Linked DNA regions of Homo sapiens: region 2 is linked to region 1. Evidence: promoter capture Hi-C in human tissues and cell types (Jung and others, 2019). All regions are on one chromosome and are shown on one strand. The core of a region is centred on a gene start or on the middle of the fragment in contact, and the rest is flanking DNA. Distances in the headings are between cores, read along the strand shown.

Region 1 (3,693 bases), core at 1,087-3,586:
AACACTGCTCAGTCTAATAAAGAAATCAGTAACAGACCTATGTACCTAAGTGAAAAAACACAATAGTGAGGTCCTATTTCCAAAGCTATTCTGTACCTTTCTTAATACAACCTTGTTATTGCAGCATAAACACAAAGAAGTCTGGACCTATTATAAAACCAAGTGAGAACCAACCCCCCCCGCCCCAAAAAAAAAATGCTGGGCTGTTGTTGCTGTGGATTTTGGTTTTTTTAACCTCACGTCTGCCTGAGTCAGGTTCACTGAATTCATCAACCTTTTCTTTGGTTTCCTGTGCACATTATAAATCCAGAAGGCTCTGATCCCAGGGATTGTTCTAACTCATAATTAGGAAACGTGAGCCCATTTCAACCACACTTCAAAGACAGGGAAGGAGGGGGAACGTAAATTCCTCTTTCTAAATCGAACCATCACAGAACTCGGCATTTCAACTGTCTTCATCTATTATCAGATCCAAAGCAACATAACCTCAGTGATTCTGGAAGAACTCAGAGAACAGACAATTCATGTAATTAAAAGACTTTGTGCGTGATAATTGGCTTTGAAGTTTCTGAGAGAGATCTCATCTCAAAAATCTTTGCAGAAAAATATGGGTACAGGGTTCTTGCAGCACGTATTAGAGACTGCTGAGACGCTTCACTCTCCTCCCAGTGTATCTATCTGCAGGAAAGGGGCACGGGTGGGGGAACCACACACAAGCAGCCCAGGTCAATCATGAGAAAGAATCTCCCGCACAAATCACACCATTTCTCTTCAAGGAAGAATGACTGTCCAGAGCTTCCAAACTTGCTCTTCCCATGACAGACAGGGATGCTGGCAGAAGAGAAGAGGAAACATTGAGGAATTCCTGCCTTGACACATGGCTTCAAGTCAGGGCTCCGCTGGGAAAATTCGGGTCACAACTTGTAGCTGAAACTCCACGTGCACCCTGCGGGGCCGCTGCTGCTCCCAGCACCCTACGGAAGGGTGAGCGCCAGACCCTGTGCCCAAACCTCACAGCGGCAGACCTGGAGAAACCCATCCCCCTTCTTCAGAGCCGCCCCCCAGGCTATATTTTTGGCAGCCTATAATACACAAAATAGTATTCCCATACAACAGGAGTGCTCCAAAATTATTTCCAAATAGGTCAGTGCCACCAGGGAAAGTCAATCCCAAATTCCAGAAATCTCCCTGGTCATCTCAATCCCCTCCTCCCCCGACAGCCGGCTCGGCCCTCCAGAGGCCACCTTTCCTCTCAAGGGTCCCCACGCCCTCTCCCTTTACAGAAAAGGCTTTCAGGAAACAGCCTTCCTTTCCTTTCGGCTCCTTAGTAGTCTCACCTAAGGCCTCCCACCCAAGTGCTCCAGGACAAGCACCTTCGGCCAAGGGGCGTCCGAGGAGCTTGGCTGCCGCACGAGCGCACGTTCACACGCGCGCACACACACATGCACACAAGCGCGCACACACACTTGCACACGAGCCCTCTCTCCCGGCCGCCCCCATCCTCCACACACTCCCACACACTCACTCCAGGCGAAGTTAGTCCCCGGGCCCTGGCGGCCGCGGCGTCCTCACCTTTGGAAAACAGGGCGGCCAGGCTGATGAGTACCGGCGACCAGTGGTGCCACAGCGTCCCCATCTCAGACGGGCACATCCTGGAGACCCGGAGCGCAGATCCTCCGCTCCCCGGCGCCGTCCAGGCGAACAAGAGACCGTCTCAGTCCCCTAGAGGCCCGCAGCGGGGCCGGTGGCGAGGGAGCGCCCGGCTAGGGGCCCGAGCAGCCCGGGCGCCCTGCTCCCTCTTCCCGCCAGTCCATGGCCAGGCCGGGAGGCGACGACCGCGCGGGCTCCTGAGTTGCTCTCCGGAGTCCAACACGCGCGCAGGCAAACCCCACCTCCCTCCTTCGACCCCAACAGAATTTTTTTTAAATTTTAATCCACAGGGGGTATTTCCTTTCCTGTTTACCCGAGCGAAGAGTGGCCCCCGGTGGCCCAAGGAGGGGCGCCTCCAGGCGCAGGGCTCCGGCGGCTCCAGCTGCTCCCGGGCTGGCTAGCGGGCGCTGGCGCAGGCGGCGCCGGGGTGGCGGGGCTGCGGAGCCCGGGACGCGGGCAGAGGCGGCTCGGAGCCCCCCGGGCGGGTGGCCGGGCTCGCTGGGCGGCCCGGGGCTCCCTGGCCCGCAGCCCCCATCCCAGGCCGGCCGCTGCGCCTCGGGGCTCGGGCGCGCGCGCGCTCCGGCACCCAAAGTTTGGCGGGTGCGGCTGCTCCCCGGCCGCCGCCTCGGCCCGCCCGGCCCCGGGCCCGGCTGGGGCTCGCGGGGCTCTACGCGCGCCGAGCGCACTGCAGGCTCCGGAGACGCGGGGCTCCCCCCTGCGCCCGGGGGAGGCGGGCCAGATGTGCGCGGAGGAGGGCCCGCCGGCTCGGGGACGCGGCCGAGCAACGCAGCTGCCTCCTGCCAGCAGGCGCGGGGGCTCCGCTCCGCAAGGACCGCATCCGGAACGGAACGGAGGCGATCGCCACGGTGCCCGGAGCCGGCTGGGGCTTTCGCCTTAAAAATTTGTCTGCTTTTAAAAAGCCCCACCCTTTCGGAGTGACAGCTGTGAGCCCCAATCCGCAAAGTAAATCCCACCTCCCCCTGGCCGCCCCACGCCCAGCCTCCCGGCCACCCTCCCTGCGAGCGCGGACGCGCGGTGGCGGCGGGCGAGGGCTCCCAGCGCGGGCGCACCCCGGGGACGGAGCCACCCACTCTCCCAACAGGTGTCCAGCTGGCCACCGGCCTCTCGTCGTCATCAAAACCTCAGGCCCAGGGGAGGTCCTCCAGCCCGGGGGCACCTGAGGCTCTTCGCCAGGGAGAGCGCAAGGATGGCTGGAGAAGGGCCCTCGCCCCGCCCTGCGCATCTCCCAGGGATCGCAGTGAGGAAGTCTCTGACACGCCACACTGAGGTCATGCTGGCCCCAAGCCCCTTCCCAGAGCGATCCCCCAAGTTAGTGTCCCTAGAAACATGTCGTGTGCTCCCCAGGGCTCACTGGGAAAGGAAATGGATCCATTAGGAGACAACATTGCTTTGAGAAGATAAAAGACATGATTCTCAACACCGCCCGGAATCTCCAACTAAGACATTCCCACACCAAGATCCCTAAGCACCGTCCTGTAATTTGTAGCCCAAGAACTGCTTTGCTCCACGAGAGCCTTTAAATTAACCCCATCAAAGCTCAGAGGGAAGAAAAGCATTCAGAATTTTTAAGGAATATTGTAAACCAACAAGCCCTGAATCTAATGAGGTGAATTCACCTCAGTAGATAAAAATGGGTCGTTATCATCTGACTGAGGGGGCAATGGACTTTTTTATCCTGTATGCCTGTAGTTGCAGAAATATACCAATGCTTTAAGAGTTTTTAGCTTTCAAAGTTTCAAGGAAGATCAAAAAAGCCACTGCTGTTCTACCGAAGATTGTTTTTCTGGGTTCATGTCCTTTGAGATGTGCTCTTGTCTTTTATTCTGTATCTACTTATCTGAATATATCTGTCTTTCTGTTTTTTCTTTTGTTTGTTTCTTAAACTTGTTGCCTTTTCTCTTTGTATTGCTCTCCTGTAAAATTCCTAAGAGTCGACGCTGCAAAGACCCTAAGAGATTGTCTCTTTCACTGTTTCTGAAGTTTGAACCAGCAGGAGAGTCACTGGAAAATTTGTTAGACCTG
Region 2 (3,863 bases), core at 1,246-3,745, 70 kb before region 1:
GAAGTTCCACCATGAGTCCTGAAATTGAACCTCATTGGCCTGTTTATTTCTGACCCCCTGGGTCACATACCCTCCTCTGGAGCCAGGAACTGGGACCCAGCCCACTCACCAGCACATCACTGAAGGGGTGAAGAAAGCTGGTTTCCCAAAAGGGAACTCCAGACCCCGATACCCACAGAAGAGAGAACAGACGCTGACATGGGCACTGACAGATGACCCTTTCAAGGCTGGAGTCAGGGTAGACAGCCATTGTCCCTCCCACACATGCACACCACTGAATACGCAAATGCGATTGCGTGTGTCTGCTTCCATCACAAGGCGCAATGATATTTTATATAGAGAGACTGTGGTCTTTGATGCCAAGTGAGTGTGGGTTTGAGAGGCGCTCTGAGGCCCGACAGCTTCTGATCCCGGATGGGGATTATGCGGCCGGTGCCTCGGCTGGCTCAGCCGTGAAAAATAAAACAGGGTGGATTCCAAACGAGACGACACACGTGAATGCTTTAGACCATGACCTAGCGGTTTTCTCTATTATTCTGTATTCTAAGGAATGAATACGCAGTTATAACAATGATTAGCCTCCTGCTTCTAGTTTCAGTAGGAAACAGAGCTGGATTCAGAGCCGACAGACCTCACCAGCTCTCAGCTCTTCTACTGACCAGCAGAAAAACTGAGCAAGCCATTAAACCCAGGGTGCGCATCTTCCAGCCTCCCAACAACCCCCAGGCTGTTTGTGCATGACCTCCAAATAAGCACACGTTGAAGCATTTTTTTTTCTTTTCTTTTTCTTTCTTTCTTTTTCTTTTTTTTTTTTGAGACTGAGTCTTGCTCTGTTGGCAGGCTGGAGTGCAGTAGCACGATCTCAGCTCACTGCAATCTCCACCTCCCGGGTTCCAGAGATCCCCCTGCCTCAGCCTCCCGAGTAGCTGGGACGACAGGCACCTGCCACCATGCCCGGCTCTTTTTTTTTTTTTTTTTTTTTTTTTTGTATTTTAGTAGAGACGAGGTTTCACCATGTTGGCCAGGCTGGTCTCAATCTCCGGACCTCGTGATCCGCCCGTCTCAGCCTCCCAAAGAGCTGGGATTACAGGTGTCAGCCACTGCACCTGGCCGTTTTGTAGCATTTTTAAAGGGTTGGAAGAAGGAACAGGAGGAAGAGATATAGAATAACGGAAAGAAAAGAAGGAGAGGAAAAAGGGGGAGGGAAAGAATGAAAAGGAAGAGGAGGAAGAGAAGATGTAACAGAGGCCACATGTGTTTTACAAATTATATATATACATAAAATATTTTTGTAAAAGGATATATCATAAATATTATATATTATATTCTATAACATGGTATATAACATATCGAATAGGACATATATTTACTACGTAGCTCTTTACAAAAAAGCTTGCAGACCCTGCACTAAACCATGGAGCCTGTTTGTTTATGAAATGGGGAGATGACATCCTCGCAGCTTCCCCCATAGGTCCACTGGGAGCATCAAACAAGATGATGCATATCTGAGTATTTTTGTGGCTTCTGCAGCACTAGGTCCATCCCAGCATGGCCACCTCTGCCTCCTCCCAGGCCTCTGCCCGGCAGGTGAAGGGCTGAGGTGCGCAGGCTCAGAGATAGTCAGGGGACGCTGCAGGCATTTGTTCCATTCCGCCCGTCACTGTTGCCACAAACCCGGCCATGATCTGAGAGGAAGGCTTTCTTTATGGAGCCGTCACTTTTCTGAATCCTGGGGGAGTCCTTCAAAGGCACCGTCTCCAATAATCCCACTTTCACCTGTCAGAGAGCTTGTTTTGAATTCAGTTTCAACCCCTTCAATCCAAGTTCCACCTTGCTAAGAACTAGCAAACTCATTTAACTCTTTCTCGCAATCCCCCTCTACTCCCTACCTTAGCTGGTCACTCTCAGAAAGTCAACCTTGACCTACGGGTTCTTCACACTGATGCCTCTCGCAAATTACAAATGCCTCTGGCCGATGTCCAGACTTTGACCTTGAAGATGCTCGTGCCTGAGTGCAGGCTGTTCTGTGGTTTAGTGTGTGCTCCACACACAACTCTACTTGGCTTTCATAGACCCCGTAGATATTTTTCCAGATAAATTGTCCTCGCATTGATGTGTGACCCATGCAACTGAATTGTTTTTAATGCAGGCCTCAAGTAAGCTACAGTCGGACACACACAAAGGCAAACCTTGTTCCCTTTCTGCCCTTGTAATTCCTTCCTACACCATTAAAGAATATTTCTGGGCTGGGTATGGTGGTTCATGCCTGTAATCCCAGCACTTTGGGAGGCTGAGGTGGGCGGATCATGTGAGCCTAGGAGTTTGAGACCAGCCTGGGCCATGTGGTGAAACCCCATCCCTACAAAAAAATGAAAAACAAAAACAAAAACAAAAACAAAAAACAGCCAGCTGTGGTGGTGTGCACCTGTAGTCCCAGCTACTTGGGAGGAGGAGGTGGGAGGATCGCTTGAGCCCAGGAGTTCGAGGCTGCTGTGAGCTGTGATCACGCCACTGTTCTCCAGCCTGGGCAACAGAGCAAGACCCTATCTCAAAAAAACAAAAAACTCAGAATATTTGTTTCATTTCATTCCTGTTTTTAATGTGAATTTGTGTTTTTCTAAGAATAAAGCTGTACCCATGTGAAATTCACAGCCCATTGCCACAGGCACCGTCCCCAATTTCAGCTCTAGCTTCCACTCCTCTGCCCATGGGCAAGGCATTTAACAAGTCGGTGTCAGTCTACAGGAAACTCCTCTCAAGCAAATAGCATAACTAGGTCTGGGGATCTCGGCTGTTGTTCCTAATGCCTACATGCCTAAAACTATTTTTTTTTTAATTCAAGCATGTCGCATATGAGCAGTACCCAGGATTCCTCACTTTCAAATGTGCTCTCCACAAGATTCTGACACCCAGCCTGGTTGGGGGAATCACTGAGGGGGTGTCATCTCTGTTCTTCCTCCCCAGGAACTTTCGGATCACTGTTCAAGGACTGAGGCCCATCTGCTCCATAAGGGATTGTAACCGAGTGGCCCAGACTTGAAACACATTTTACAGTTTTTCCTTTCCCTTCCTTCTTCATCTCAGAATGTAGCCTGGAAATACACTTTAAGACTTCACTTCCCTCCTTTCCACCAGGCACTCGGATGTGCTATTCTCCCTCCTCCAAGTATGCACTTACTTAGAAATTCTAGGGGCTTGTTTTGAAACAAACCAGTCCCGAGACCCAGCTGCTGCTTAAATGGAGTTATGGACAATTAGTCCACCACCACCATCGGGCCAGCATCAAGATAATGGCAACCAAACCTCAGGACAGGCAATTTCTCAAGATAGCCATTGGAACAGGGCACATGGACCTACACCCCGCCCCCTCCCTCCCATACCACTCCTGCATATCTCCCATACAGTTTTCCTTCCTAAACCCCCTCTCTCAGCCCTGAAAGATGAATGGTCTTTTGAGGACATGAGCCTGACCATGCACCAGCTGCTAGCACTGGAATAAAGCCGCTTTCCTTCCACCACTCCTCGCTTCTGTTCTGGTCCCTGGGCAGTGAGCAGCAGGACCTGAGTCGGTTTCAGGATGAGCACGATTCCTGTGATGAAGGCATCAGGCGGCAGGGCTCACAGTGCAGACCCACAAATGGAACCCCGTCCACAGAGGGCTCAGGCCAGCACAGCGTCTTAAAATCATCTGAATCTCACCATTTTGAAGTGGAAACCACATGCTCTATTCCCCACAGGCTGCACATTGGGCCGTTTTATTCATCAGGAACTTGGGGCATGGTGGATGGAACCTATGAGCTTTTTGGTATCTGAACAAGAACTGATAAAGATGGTAAATGGATACTATGGAGAATTGAACAGAA

The links. Contacts are between HindIII fragments. The study calls those that stand out against the background at their distance.
Region 2: a fragment that was not itself captured here is called in contact with the fragment with the promoter of TMEM132D in region 1 in 2 of the 25 tissues and cell types used here (H1 embryonic stem cells and dorsolateral prefrontal cortex).

What each region holds. Positions count from the first base shown.
Region 1 is chr12:129,901,689-129,905,381 of GRCh38, forward strand. It overlaps TMEM132D (transmembrane protein 132D), which reads right to left and starts at 2,337. Exons shown (of 9, transcript NM_133448.3): 1 at 1,573-2,337. The coding sequence starts at 1,651. The HindIII fragment of the contact is 10,076 bases long and covers 1-3,693 here.
Region 2 is chr12:129,831,075-129,834,937 of GRCh38, forward strand. All of the region lies in intron 1 of TMEM132D (transmembrane protein 132D), which reads right to left. Among named protein-coding and RNA genes, the nearest start is that of TMEM132D, 71 kb to the right of the region's middle. The HindIII fragment of the contact is 4,178 bases long and covers 407-3,863 here.